Regions from separate parts of the Homo sapiens genome. Here regions 1, 2, 3 and 4 are each linked to region 5. Evidence: promoter capture Hi-C in 16 types of primary human blood cells and fetal thymus (Javierre and others, 2016). All regions are on one chromosome and are shown on one strand. The core of a region is centred on a gene start or on the middle of the fragment in contact, and the rest is flanking DNA. Distances in the headings are between cores, read along the strand shown. Region 1 overlaps LPAR3 (lysophosphatidic acid receptor 3). Region 2 overlaps MCOLN2 (mucolipin TRP cation channel 2). Region 3 overlaps LPAR3 (lysophosphatidic acid receptor 3). Region 4 has its middle 31 kb from the start of LPAR3. Region 5 holds the start of SAMD13 (sterile alpha motif domain containing 13).

Evidence for each region. Contacts are between HindIII fragments. The CHiCAGO score rates a contact against its expected background, and 5 or more counts as called.
Region 1: a fragment that was not itself captured here is called in contact with the fragment with the promoter of SAMD13 in region 5 in 1 of 17 cell types (M1 macrophages); the score reaches 5.1 in M1 macrophages.
Region 2: a fragment that was not itself captured here is called in contact with the fragment with the promoter of SAMD13 in region 5 in 2 of 17 cell types (monocytes and fetal thymus); the score reaches 6.3 in monocytes.
Region 3: a contact is called between a fragment that was not itself captured here and the fragment with the promoter of SAMD13 in region 5, in 2 of 17 cell types (M2 macrophages and M0 macrophages). The highest score is 7.6, in M2 macrophages.
Region 4: a fragment that was not itself captured here is called in contact with the fragment with the promoter of SAMD13 in region 5 in 1 of 17 cell types (M2 macrophages); the score reaches 5.7 in M2 macrophages.

What each region holds. Positions count from the first base shown.
Region 1 is chr1:84,855,204-84,857,903 of GRCh38, reverse strand. All of the region lies in intron 2 of LPAR3 (lysophosphatidic acid receptor 3), which reads left to right. Among named protein-coding and RNA genes, the nearest start is that of LPAR3, 37 kb to the left of the region's middle. The HindIII fragment of the contact is 217 bases long and covers 1,305-1,521 here.
Region 2 is chr1:84,940,215-84,942,914 of GRCh38, reverse strand. MCOLN2 (mucolipin TRP cation channel 2) reads left to right here. Exons shown (of 14, transcript NM_153259.4): 8 at 1,924-2,036. Among named protein-coding and RNA genes, the nearest start is that of LPAR3, 48 kb to the right of the region's middle. The HindIII fragment of the contact is 4,398 bases long and covers 1-2,700 here.
Region 3 is chr1:84,888,691-84,891,390 of GRCh38, reverse strand. The region is part of intron 1 of LPAR3 (lysophosphatidic acid receptor 3); the gene reads left to right. Among named protein-coding and RNA genes, the nearest start is that of LPAR3, 3.2 kb to the left of the region's middle. The HindIII fragment of the contact is 1,023 bases long and covers 846-1,868 here.
Region 4 is chr1:84,922,773-84,925,472 of GRCh38, reverse strand. No RefSeq gene overlaps it. Among named protein-coding and RNA genes, the nearest start is that of LPAR3, 31 kb to the right of the region's middle. The HindIII fragment of the contact is 458 bases long and covers 1,118-1,575 here.
Region 5 is chr1:84,300,387-84,303,086 of GRCh38, reverse strand. SAMD13 (sterile alpha motif domain containing 13) reads right to left here and starts at 1,379. Exons shown (of 4, transcript NM_001134663.2): 1 at 1,286-1,379. The HindIII fragment of the contact is 6,789 bases long and covers 374-2,700 here.

The DNA of each region.
Region 1 (2,700 bases), core at 164-2,663, 550 kb before region 5:
TATATGTTTTATTTCATTTAGCATTCATGACAACCCTTGAGGGAAGTTCTGTTATTACCAGATGAGGAAACTGAGGCCCGAAAAGGTTCAATGTCTTGCTCAAGGTTAGTAGCAGAGCTGAGATTCCAACCCCAGGAGACTGGCTCCATACTCTACTTTTCAGAGTCAGTTAATAGTCTCTTGGAAGTGAGGGGGCTGGAACGATTGGACCCAAGTCATGAAGTTTATAACTTGTATCTCCCTTGGTTTCTATAAAGTTCATTTCTGTAAAGTCACATGCTCTTTCAACATTTAGCTCGCCCTTGATCCAAATGTTTTGCAGCATGCTAGTGACAGCTATGAAAACATCTCCTGGAAAATGACAGCTCTATACTCTTCAAACTTTATGCTTATTAAAATCATTGGTAAGAATAGGGGCTTTGGAGTCGGCGGGGGGAACTGGATTTAAATCCTAGCTTTGTCAATTCCAAGTTGTGTGACCTTGAGCAATTCATCTCACCTGTCTGTGCCTTAGTTTTTTCATCTGTAAGAAAGGGATAATAGTATCTTTGGCATGGTGAGGTGTTGAGGATTCAATGAGTTAATACACATAAAGCACCTAGCATAATGTTTGGTACATAGTAAGTACTAAGTAAATATTAGCTACTCTTAGACCTTAGTTTGATTCTAAAGAGCCATGCCCTGTATTCAAGCAGAATGCCCTTTTATGTCCAGTTCTATCACCAAGTAACCTGGACACAGGGACTAGAAGCCTACTGTTGGTGCCATCATGATGGCAGATTTTATAAAATGGACAAGTAGCCAAGAGGAAGCTGACCGGGTGTGCTTTGCAGAGGCTGCCTTGACAGATGGCAAATGGTACCAGCTCTGTTACTGGAGACCCAGGACAGTCTGAACACATGGTCACCACAGAACTGAAAAGCTCTGTGCTTACATTGCTAGTCCCTATAAACCACCCTCTCCCCTACGAAATTCTGTTAATGATTCCTGTCTCTGACAGATGATCTTTCCATTAATAATTCATTTCACTTTTGCAACATTTATGAATAAAACATTATAAATGAGACCCTGGCCACAAAGCATTAGCTTGACAAGAGTCCTGTGATACAGCACCAACATCTTGTGTATAGAGCTCTATTATAGGATGGTCCTCATAAGAAACTGTCCCCCTCTTGCTAACAAATCCTTCGAGAGTAGCTAGTTCGTCAGCTGCTATTATCACCTTTGCTAGGATTGGAAAGTTTGCCCTGTGACTGAAAAGAGTTGGGACCAAAACACAGGCCTTTTGGTATTATTCATAAGCTTCATCGATGAACTGTCCTTACTCCATTAAAAAAGAGAGAGAGAGAAAAAAAAAGTACATGTGCCTAAGTTCGTGAGGAATTCTGAAACATTTGTTTTCAGCTTCTGTGGCCTTGTAGTTGCTTCTGCAACACAGAAGCCTGCTTTCAATGTTTACTGCCTGCATGCCTTAGTAATCAAATATCTGTTAAAATAGAAAAAAAGAAAACAGTTAAAGCTTTGCCTTAAGAAATGCTGAGTGAAATGAACAGATTGTTGGCACACAGGGGCTCTCTTGTTGCTGTGCAGAGAGTCATATCAGAAGGAGGGTGATTCTTTTCAGAGTCAAGCCATCCAGGCACCAGTACTCAGTACATTGAGTCCGGGGGTGTTCGTACTTTTGTCTTGAAATGGCTAGTCCCAGGAGCACCTTTGTCACAGATGATTTTCCTGTGTGCTTCATGGCATTGCTACAGAGGCCTATGGGAGGGAGGCATTGTTTTCAGGGCAGGCCGTCAATCGGTGGGTGCAAAAATGCAGTTGCCACTCAGTTGCTGCCCCTACGCTGCTGTTTGACACATCCCTTCCTGTTCTGACGGGGAACGTGGGGACTGAGATGACCTCAGTGTCTGATGCTGGAAGGAAGACAGCTTCAAATTAAAAAAGAAAATCCCTCATATGGCACTCCATCCCACTTGTTCAAATGCCATCTTGACACCTCTTCCAACACCACATTTCCAGGAGTCTGTCTTCTTTCTTCTGTCTCTGCCATATGTAGCCATTTGTTACCTCAAGTCTGGCTCTTGGTTCTTTCTTTTCCCCCCACGCCACTGTTTCAGACACCTCCCTTGGCAGTCAGTTTAGAAGTGCTTTTCCCAAATCAGTGTTCTTGTTTCCAATGTAACCACTGCCCTGCCCTCTTACTTCTTCCATTTCCTCTGGTCCAGACCCCTTCAGTTCCATTACACCAAATGCACTCAGCTTCTTTTATTCCCCTCTCATGCCCCCTTCTTCAGAACTTCTGGCTTTTCTTCTTTTTAGAAAACTGAAACCTTCCTCTTAAGCTGAAACAAACAATTATTGAATATTTTCTGAGTGCAAGGTGGAGAAACATTTCTCAAATTTGACCTCTTTGAAAAGAAGGTATAGGGAGAGGTTCCAGTACCCAACTACATCCAACCCTCCTGCCAACACCCAGCCTCCTGGAAGGTTTCATGTTCCAGAACTCAGGAACACCCTCTCTTAGGGCTTTGATTTCTGCCAAAGGAGAAATGTGGTCATCGTCTGTGACTCAGGCGTCATATCACTGGGCTAATTCAACATCTGGAATAGTATGGTGTGTGCTGGCCAATGGTAGAATTTTATCAAATTCCATGTTAACATTGTACTTCGAAAATTTCAGCTGGGGACTACTATGTT
Region 2 (2,700 bases), core at 137-2,636, 640 kb before region 5:
TTCTTGCTGGTTGGGAGTCTCTGTGGAGTCCCAAGGCAGTGCAGGGCATCACATGGTAAGGGGGGTGAGCATACTAGCTCAAGTCTCTCTTCCTCTTCTTAAAAAGCCACTAGAGCCATTCCCTTGATAACCCATAAATCTATGAGTGGATTAATCCATTTATGAGGGCAGAGACCTCATGACCCAATCACCTTTTAAAGGCCCTCCCTCTCAATACTGTCACATTGGGGATTAAATTTCAAATGAGTTTTGGAGGAGACAAGTAACTCAAACCGTAGCAACTACCTATGGGCCCTGCTTCAGAGAGCCTGTCACTTGATGGGGAAGATGGACACTTAATGATAAAATAGTAACCACTGTAAGTGTTTGCTATTATTATTTTCCTGGGGCTGTTTCATGGGCTCTTTGTATATGAACTTGCATAATTTTCACAATAGCCCTATGATGTAGGTATTTTTTAATTCTACCCACTTTTCAGAGGAGGAAACTGAGGCACAGGGGTTAAGCAACTTCCTCAAGGCTCTACAGCTTCTGAGTACAGAGCTGAGATTCAGAGCCAGGCTGTCGGGCTCCAGAGACCATGTTCTTTCCCATTCTACACTGTCTCTGTGCTCCATGCTGTGCTGCCTTTGCAGATGTAATGAAAGGTCAGTGTCTGTTGTGCAGAGGAAAGTAAAGGAGCTCTGGGTGTGTGTAGTAACCAAGAACCATGAAAGTATATAGGAGAGGGCTAATAGAGATGAGAATTTAAGGAATTCTTTTCTGAGATGGGAGATTTTTCATTTGGAACTTGAGGCTGAAAATAAATAAGCTGAGCCATGCATGTGGGAGAAGTGCTGTTCCAGGCAGACAGATCAGCATGTGCAAAGTCCCTGAGGTGAGAGCAGGAAAGAAGGAAGATCAGTGTGGCTGTAGGGTGAAGAAGGTGGGGGTCAGGCAGAAGAGAGCTGGGCTGGGATTGGAGACACTACCGTGAAGTCTGAGAGAAACTAAGGTTAGATTCATCTCCTTCCCATACATTCTTCTTGCTGCTGTGTGCTCCAAACCAAAAATCTGATTACCACTCCCCTCCTTGCTTCTGTTCCAAGAAGTAATTTTCTCTACATACAGAGAAGGCTTATAAGATTGGCACTATGTCCTGGGAAAGTGCACAGTGAGGTTGAGAAGCAGAAGTGGGGATTCTGAGTGGTGGTGTTTTAATTTGTTTGTTCTCTTATTAATGGTGAACTTGATGTCTCTGCTTTTATGTGAAAGAACTCAGAGTAGGTCAGCAGTTTTGCCTTTTTTTGAATGGAGCCCAAATGGATCACTTTCTGTTGAATTCTATTCTACAGTAAATATTTATATATAAATTTGAGTGAATTTATTAGCAGCTCACATAGTTTTTGCTTTTGTTTTTGTTTTTTGTTTTTTGTTTTGAGACAGAATCTCGCTCTGTTGCCCAGGCTGGAGCGCAGTGGCACGATCTCGGCTCACTGCAAACTCTGCCTCCCGGCTTCATGCCATTCTTCTGCCTCAGCCTCCCAAGTAGCTGGGACTACAGGCGCCTGCCACCACACCTGGCTAATTTTTTTGTATTTTTAGTACAGACGGGGTTTCACCGTGTTAGCCAGGATGGTCTTGATCTCCTGACCTCGTGATCCGCCCACCTCAGCCTCCCAAAGTGCTGGGATTACAGGCGTGAGCCACCGTGCCTGGCCCAGCTCACATGTTTTTAAATGTATAGCTTTATATCAGGGAATGTTTTGCCTTACATATGTACTTCTGAATGAATGCGGTGTGATTTGTTTCTGATATTTACCATTTTGTTTTAACAATAGACAAAACATTTATTGTTTGAACTTCTTTTCACACTGCCATTTTGTTTGGAAATTATTCTCCGGTAAGGTGTGTTTAACATTTGAATTCTGTTTTATTCCTCAGCTCAGAAAAATGCTCAGTATGTCCTGGTGTTTGATGCATTTGTCATTGTGATTTGCTTGGCATCTCTTATTCTGTGTACAAGATCCATTGTTCTTGCTCTAAGGTTACGGAAGGTAAGAGTGTGTTCGCATTCTCTTCCTGCCCTCTTGGCCTGCGCCCTCAGTTTGCCCAAGCAGTGGACCACCGATATTGTGCACCTGCCTTTTTTGGAGACCTTTGACTAAATCAGATTCCTTTGAGTAGTTGCCCGCTATGAGGCATTCATCAGCCTGAGGTGTAGGAAGTGAGTAAAGGCTCTGAGTATGTCAAGTGGGATCAGATAATTATCCTGCTTAAAACTGAGCTGATATGTACAGATGCACAGTGGTGAACTCTCAGGCTTTTGAATGTTTCCAGAATAACAAATCCCTCTTCAATTCAGGAGTGATCTGAAGAACAGAGTAATAGCATGTGTGGGTTTCATCTTTTGTCTTCAAATCAGAGTTCATTTTGACAGGGAGGCATGGTAAATGGATTATAATGAAGCATAAAATACTTTATTCTGTTTTTAAAATAGTTTTAAAATTCTCCCCTGAGTTTCATTTTGCCTTTTTACCCTCAGGGCTCTTATGAATATATACTTCCGCTCCCCACATATCTTATTCTGGCTGTGGCGTGTGTACAAATGCACACTGGGGTCAGGGGAAATTGGAAGTCCACAGAGTACCATTTGTGGAGCAGGGACGTAGTCTGCATTTGATTTTGCCTAATCCTGACCTTTGTCAATGTCCTTTGTAA
Region 3 (2,700 bases), core at 108-2,607, 590 kb before region 5:
TTGAGACAGCAAGGAACTAGTTATCCTGTGGAGATCTGGACGTCTAACTATTTGGACAACACTTACATTGATTGTCACTATCATATAACTAAGAAAATAGGTCATTTTGGCAAAAATTTTTTCTTTGTCTTTAGAATTTGAAACTTTGAGGTTTTGATTTAATTACATATGACACTCCTCTTGTCTAAACCTTTCAATTGCATTTATCAACTACCACTCTTTTTTTTTTTATCAGATCAGACCTATTTTAGATATCTTGCTGTTCTGCAAGATATTTGTTAGAACAGGCCTGCATATGTTTTCTATGAATGGAGACTGAATTTAAAACATTAAAGTATGAGATTGTTTTTCATGTGTGTTCACCGGAATCTGTTTAAGAAACTACAGCATGTTAACTCTCCATCTCATTTTTCAGAAACACACGTGCACAGTGGAAGAAATGCACACACAGCATTGTAGCCAGGCAGCACCCAGACACACACTCTCAACATCACTTATACACACATGCCTAAGGCTGGCTGCTTCTCCCCCAAGTTTCTCAGCCTGCTGCTGAGGAGCAGCAGTGCGTGATAACTTAAGACCCGCCTCTTATTTCTTTGGGCTGGGGCAAGGGGAATCACTATAACTGAAATGGGAATTACTGTACCTCAGATTACCCATTAGCCATTCTCCTTGGAGTATACATTAGTTCAAATGCTTTCTGGCCTGTGATTATACCCAACAGAGTGGTTAAGTCTGTTTGCAGGATTCTAGATGGCAGAGACCAGGCCCAAGGCATTATTAATGCAGTATAAATGGAAGACCAAGGCTTTGCAGTCAGACCAGCTTTTGTTCCAGTCCAAGCTTTGTGACCTTGGGCACATAGCTTCACCTCTCTAAGTCTTAATTTCCTCATCTGTAAAAATGAAGATTATATCCATCTCCCAAGATTAAAAGAGAAAGCACTGAGCATGGTCTCTCATATACAGGAAGTACTCCTTAAATGCTGGTTGCCCTCTTTTCCTCCTAGATAAAAATTTAAGTATTAACACTTGTGTAAACATGGGTGCAAATGTATATTCTGGTAAAAGTGCAAAGATTTCTAAGCCTTAGATGACTTAGAGATGTTATACACACTTTTCTTACTTGCTTTCTCTTTTCCTGGCCATGGGCCTTTTGTTCCTCCCTTCGTCATTCCTCCTGCAGGTACTGAGCCTCCCCCTTTCCGGCCTTGATGATCCTTTGTTCCTCATCCTGGATTCTGTATTTGTGGAGGAGTCACCTGGAACTCAGTCCTGCTGTGGATGGCAGAGGTGGTGATGGGGCTGGGGAGCTATCTGCATAAGTGCAGAGACTTTGTGCTTTTACAAACGGTGGACTAGAGGTACTTGGAGCACAGGGTTCTGTCTTTGAATCCTAGTCCCACTTTTGTGAGTTCTTGTGACCCTGAATAGATTGTCATGTTTAAGTTTTTTTCATTTATATAGTGGGGATAATAATTACTTTTCTACCTGTCTACATGGATTGTTAATGAGTTCCATTAACTTATGTACGTGAAAGAGCTTTGTACCCTGTGAAGAGTGCATAAACATTGGAATTAAAGAGGCAGGACATCCAGATGTGGGCCACCCCAGGCAGGCCCACTCAGCTCTGGCTATTGGGGGTTGGCAGTATCTCCACAAGCATGTTTTGAGTGCTAAGGGGGCACTGCTGCAGTTCTTCCATATTCCTCTCTCCCGTCCTCTGACATCATACTGGACTTCGAGGAGGAAATAGCATCAAAGGTTGAGAAACTGCTCTGTGGGGAATATGAGAGGAAGTTAAATTTCAGGACTGAGGTTACCCAACACTACATGATCGAAGGCATAGGGCAAAGTTCCAAAGAAGCTTTAATTTCGTGTTGGAATTACCTGTACTGTCTGCGCATCTCAGTTCTTAGTGGACAAACACAAACAGCTGGCCACCACCCATCCCACAGGTCAGGAGGAGGGTGCTGATGGCAATGTTGGACAATGTATTGGGTCCACCTATACCATCCTCACTCCCCTGTGCCTTCTTGCTGACTTGGGTCTCTAGTTTACTCTGCAAAGTTCTAAACTGACCAAAGGCATTGCTCCCCCACCCCCAAATTAAGCTAATTACTTAATTCAGTCTGAAAGATATTTGTTGCTCTCTACCTGTCCTGGCAAGCCAGCTGGAGGGTGGGGGAGGGGATTTAGTACCATTGAGGGGAAGGTTCTGACATCCTGGGTTATACCCACCCCTCTCTTCATCACCCCCAGTCTTATGTCCTCCTCTTTATTCCTCTTCCTTGGCTGGCCTCTTGTCCTGTGTATCTACAACCTTGAACTCCTCCCTTGCCCATGACCCCTGATACTGCCCTACTCCCATGATTCTGTCACCCCTCTTCAGATGTGAATCATTTGTACACCTCAGGCTGGGCCAGACTGGGTGTCACTGTGGAAAGCAACCTGCCCAGCACAGCCTGCCCCACCCCTTCCTGAGGATGTTCATCAACCCCTCTAATTACTCATCAGCTAGTCCTGTGTCTACATTGTTCCCTGGGACATTAAGCTGGAGCTTCTACTAGCCCTGGCCTTGACTCACCCATGTGCAGATTGACCAGTTATCAAGGGATGGCTTGGCAGGTGGCAGGGCTGGGTTGGAGGGCACATTAGCCCCTCCATAAGTGCACTATTTGGTCCAAAGGCCTTCCAAGCA
Region 4 (2,700 bases), core at 97-2,596, 620 kb before region 5:
AAAAGCAGTGAAGGATATACAGGGGCTAAGATATAGAAGTTATTCAATAAATATTTATGATGATAGCTTGAGAGATGAAGATCACTTCATGCATAGACTTATTTCATACCTGAGCTATCTCAGTGGCCAACTATTTAAAGTTATTGGTGAAGAGGAGAATTTGAATTAAGCAGGACCCTCCTTCCAGGGCTCTTCCTCTTTCTCCTTGGCCTCAGTCGCCCTCCCCACAAGCCCCTACCCAATTTTCCTTCTCATGTCACCTTCCCCCTCCTTGCTCTGACCCCATCTTCATATGCCTGCACCAACTATAGGCAGGGAAAATCATGCAGTTAATACCATTAAAGTATATAAGAGAGTAGATGACTCATGTCTACACACAGAGTACTTTGCTAAAATTATTTTAAACTTTCTTTTTTACAAGATATGTGAAGAGTTATGTTTGATTTTTAAACTAAGACACCATTAAACTGGTGGTTCTGGGGTCATTTGCCTGACCCAAGAATCAGATACGTAATTGGACCACTTGTTAACTTCTGAGTATATTGTCATATACTTAGTTTTGTCTCTGAAAAGAACTGCTATTTTTTTTCTTTCTCTCTTTTTTTTTTTTTTTAAACAGAGTCTTGCCCTGTTGCCAGGCTAGAGTGCAGTGTCATGATCTTGGCTCACTGCATCCTTTGCCCCCCAGGTTCAAGCGAGTCCCCTGCCTCAGCCTCCTGAGTAGCTGGGACTACAGACATGCACCGCCACACCTGGCTAATTTTTTGTATTTTTTTAGTAGAGATAGGGTTTCACCATATTGGCCAGGATGGTCTTGATCTCCTGACCTCGTGTACGCCCGCCTTGGCCTGCCAAAGTGTTGGGATTATAGGCGTGAGCCACCACGCCCAACCCAAGAATTGCTATTAACATGGTGAAACCCTGTATCTACTAAAAATACAAAAATTAGCTGGGTGTGGTGGCAGGCGCCTGTAGTCCCAGATACTCAGGAGGCTGAGGCAGGAGAATCGCTTGAATCCGGGAGGCGGAGGTTGCAGCGAGCCAAGATCCGGCCACTGCACTCTAGTCTGGGTGACAAAGTGAGACTCCATCTCAAAAAAAAAAAAAAAAAAAAGCTTTCATTTGTTCTGCAGCTGTGACTGCCATTTGAATAGAAGATTAATGATGGGTTTTCATGCTCATATTATTCTTCTATTGGCTTTCATGTTTTCTTTTATTTATTTTCCCTCCAGCTGGACAAAACAGTTTTAGAAAGAAAAATGTTTTTCAGGGTTAGCTCACATCTATAGAAACATTGTTTTCTCCCTTTTTAATAATGTTAAACAATTGTCACTTTATCAACTGTATTGTTATTTGGATTTTATTGAACAATGTTGTCTCATAATTCTGCTAATAGATGCATCTGGGATAAATCATTTTCTCTCTTATCATAGGCCTCCACTTAGAGGGTTCCCTGTGAAAGTTAGGAGACACATTCTTTCTGCCTGCTGGTTTCATTCTGGGATCTCCAACCCTTGAATTTAACTCCTTGGCTTGTGGTGACACAGTCAAAACCATATACAACATCTTAAAGCTTTTTCACTTGAGCTGGTAGGAGAGAGTGTGGGCATAAGAGCCATCTAGACAGACTTGAGTTAAAATTCCAGCTTAACCTAACTTTAAGGCCCTGAACAAGTTACTTTCTTCCTCTAAGTGATGATAAACCTCAACCAAGACTGGCACTTAAGTCACATAATTTATGCAGAGCCTGGTATTGAATTCATTCCTGAGCTGTTATTTCCCTTTGATTCTCTAACATGTTTGCAATAGTTTCCATGGGACCATGGAATAATGCAGACACGACTTTGCTTCTGCAACCTGTCTGCCTCAGCTGTCCTCTTCCTACTGCTACCTGAGTCTCCTTGGACAGGTCATGCCATGCATAGATTTCCTCATCCATAAAATGGGATTATGAGGATTGAATGAGTCAAACGTAAAGTGCATAGAATAGGGCGTGACTCCTAAGTGCTCAATGACTATTAGCTCTTCAAAAAACATGTCTTACTAACATGGTCTACAAATGTACAAATCTGTTCATCTGGGCCAGCCAGGAAGATTTTTATTTTATAATGCACTCACCACACACTTCTGGTGGACTTTGTTCTAGTTAGAACTTTAAGTGTGCAAAAGTCCCCCATCCAGTCCTGTCCTGGAGGCAATGATCAGTTCAGCCCTAAGAAGCTCACACCTAGCCATAGAGGAGCAGCAAGGAGAAGCAGCCTAAATGGCTGGGGCACAGCTGTCAGTCCTGATGGAAGAGAAAAGGTCCAGGAGGTGCACAAGCTGTCACAAAGCCTCAGTCCTTCACCCTGGGTGAGACCCTCAGTCCTCTACTAGGACTACCCCCTTAACCAAACTTGTCAGAATGTATAAAATTCAGGCCCACTTCCTTCTCAACCCATTGCTGACTCAAAGTGGTGAATGCAAAAGAGTGAGAGAGGGTAGTTAGGAAAAGCTCTTCGTGCGATTCGAGGCACTGTCCCCCACTCCTGCTGAGGACCTACACTCCAACAATTGTAAAAAGGGTACACTGATCCAGTGGAAGACCACGCTTGGAATCATGGGTTTATGAAAAGCACAATAGCCCAGCCTTTTGATCTAGGGGTAGCCAGTCGCCCTCTTGTCCCTGTGGACCTTCATGTAAAAATGGCCCAGCACTGG
Region 5 (2,700 bases), core at 130-2,629:
TTGTTTAAATCTCCAGTTCCCTCGGCGATTGGAGAGATGTGATTAAACCTAAAGAACTGGAGGAGACGGATTGGGGTGCTTTCATCTGTACTGGCACTCCCTGCCTTGACAATAAGCATTTGCAAATGAAATTGAATCCTCGTTGAAAACAAGTGCTGTGTGAACTGGCACAGCTTCTTCTGGGTGCCTAGCTCTCACTTAAGACACTGCAACTCATAAATGAGTCAAAGTAGAGAAAAACAATCCCCCTTTTCCTGCCCCCCTCCCATTATGGGCTTTGATTTGTTTTTTCTTATTGTGTTTGGTTTTTTTTTTGTCCACTCCCCCTTGCTCCTAGATTTTTTCATTGCAATGCAGAAGGACACTTAAAGCTTTTGTCAGCAAGTATTCCCCTACCTCACATTCTCAACGAAAGCCTCAAAAACCCGTCTGTGAGATGGCCATGCTGTGGTAAAGCAGGAAGCTCACAAAAAATGCCAGATAGCCCTTAGCACAGAAAGGTGGTGCTGGTGTGTGTGTGTGTGTGTGTGTGTGTGTGTGTGTGTATGTGTAAGAAAGAGTAGGTAACTCATTAGATTTATGAAAAATCATCAAAACATTTAAGGAGATATTGTAGCATCCATCACTCTGTCTTTTTGTTTAGTAGGATGAGGGCTGTGGAAAATTAAAAGCCTTCCACAATTAATATGCAATTAGCAAAATGAAAAAGCTACGAACAAAACTGCTTTAAGAAAAAAAAAAAAAAAAAAGGAAGAAACAGTCCCGAAACGTGTTTGCTCTTATTCAGCTGAAGCCATAAATTAAATACATTTCCACTCAAATCACTTTATACTTCGGCACTCCTTCTCTAGGGATTACTCTGACATGGCAAGTGCATCATTTAGTATATTCGCAAGATTTTATCACTGTTAGAGAAGTAGATGATTAACAAATAACACTGTAAGTGTGGGATAATTTTCACTCCTGAAACACACACATACACACAAACTTCCAGCTGCAAACCACTTAGATCATTGATAGAGAAATCCAACATTTAATATATATATATAGATATTAGCATACATTCACACACCGTTAGAGAGTAGACAGGAAGATAGTGCTGCTGCTCCATGCTAACAGAATATGATTTCACTTCAGTTGGAAACTGTTACACATTCACCATTTTCTAAGCATCTCAGAAAACAAAACAAAACACTCACAATGATACTCTGCAACACCACACTACATTGTCTTATTATTATTACTATTATTTTCTTTTCTGTGGAAGAGTAAAAAGAAAACCTACCTATAAGCAACTAAAAAATATCATTTTTTATAGGCTTATCAAGAACAGCCAAAGAAACCCCAATGTTTTCTTTCACAAAGTAGGCTGGCAAAGGAATTCAATAAGGAGGTACAATTTGACACAGTGAAATAAAACCAGGCTGGCTCTCAGCCAACATGACGTTAGGAATCACACACAAGCTGCACCAACTGCCTTCTGGTTCATGGCTGACTTTTTAAAGCTACAGTGTGCCTGTTCACTTTTGCTAACTACCTTCAGCACAATTAGTGCAAGAAATGAGTAAGGAGTCCAAAACCTGCAGAATTCTCCCTGCACCTGTCTTGTACAAAGAAAAACAAGCTGTCTCAATAGCTTCTTATTTTCTCCCTCCCCTTCATTGTTGCTGCATGATAGGTCTTAGCTGTTGTTCTGAGCATGAATGTCATGTTTCAAACTATTTCCTTTTCTCCCCAGAGGGAAAAATAAGAGTGAGAAGCCAGTGCTTATGGGCTATAACCAGAGAACACTCGGAAGCTGCAGTCCCATGTTACTCTTTTTTTCCTAATAGAGATTCATGGACAAAGTTCCCAGGGCTGGCTTTTAAGTAATCTCTTTGTGAGAATAAGGAAAGCACTGCCCAGCAGCAAATCCTTTTACTTCATTATGCAGGAAGTAACATATTTCGGAAAGGATGCAAAATAGATGACCAGATCTCCTGAAAACGCCCACATTCTTTTATTTTGGCATTTATCCTGCCAAATGAAGCCAGCAAAAATTCAAACTGAAACAAACAAAACCTTATTCTACAAAACGAAAACAATTAGTTCTGGGAGGTTTAATTTTAACTGTTTATCCCAGTTGGACAAAAAGCATAATTCAAGAAATTTAACCAACACTTACAATCTATGAGTACCCGGTACTATATTAGTTACATATGAATAGAAAGACATTATGCCCACCCCAAAATTCATAGTCTCTCCCGCCATCATCCTAAATACCAAATCAGAAAACTGGGAGGTGGAGCAGAGAGGCTGGGCAAGATCTTTTGTTTAAGTTACCCTGGTCATTCTCACAGTTCCCTTGCTTGGCTTAAACCACTTTTCCAGGAGAATAATCTCATCCCATTAATGTTCTGCACATACACAGAAAACATACATGGTTGCCTCTTCATTGAAATAAACATCAATCAACATTTGGACACTTTTAGGTCAAGATGGTCAACAAAACCACTCAAGACAGGGCACAGAACACAGGTTCCCCAGAAAGATCCTGGAAAAAGTTATCACTTGCTGTAATATCCTGTAGAATTCAGGTAGAATCTGAGGAAAAAGCTGCCTGCTTCCCTTTTTAAAAATAATCTTTTAGGACATTAGGAGATTACCTTTGATCTAAATTTGGAACCTGAATTTCAAGGTCAAAAAATTTGTTCTTTACTT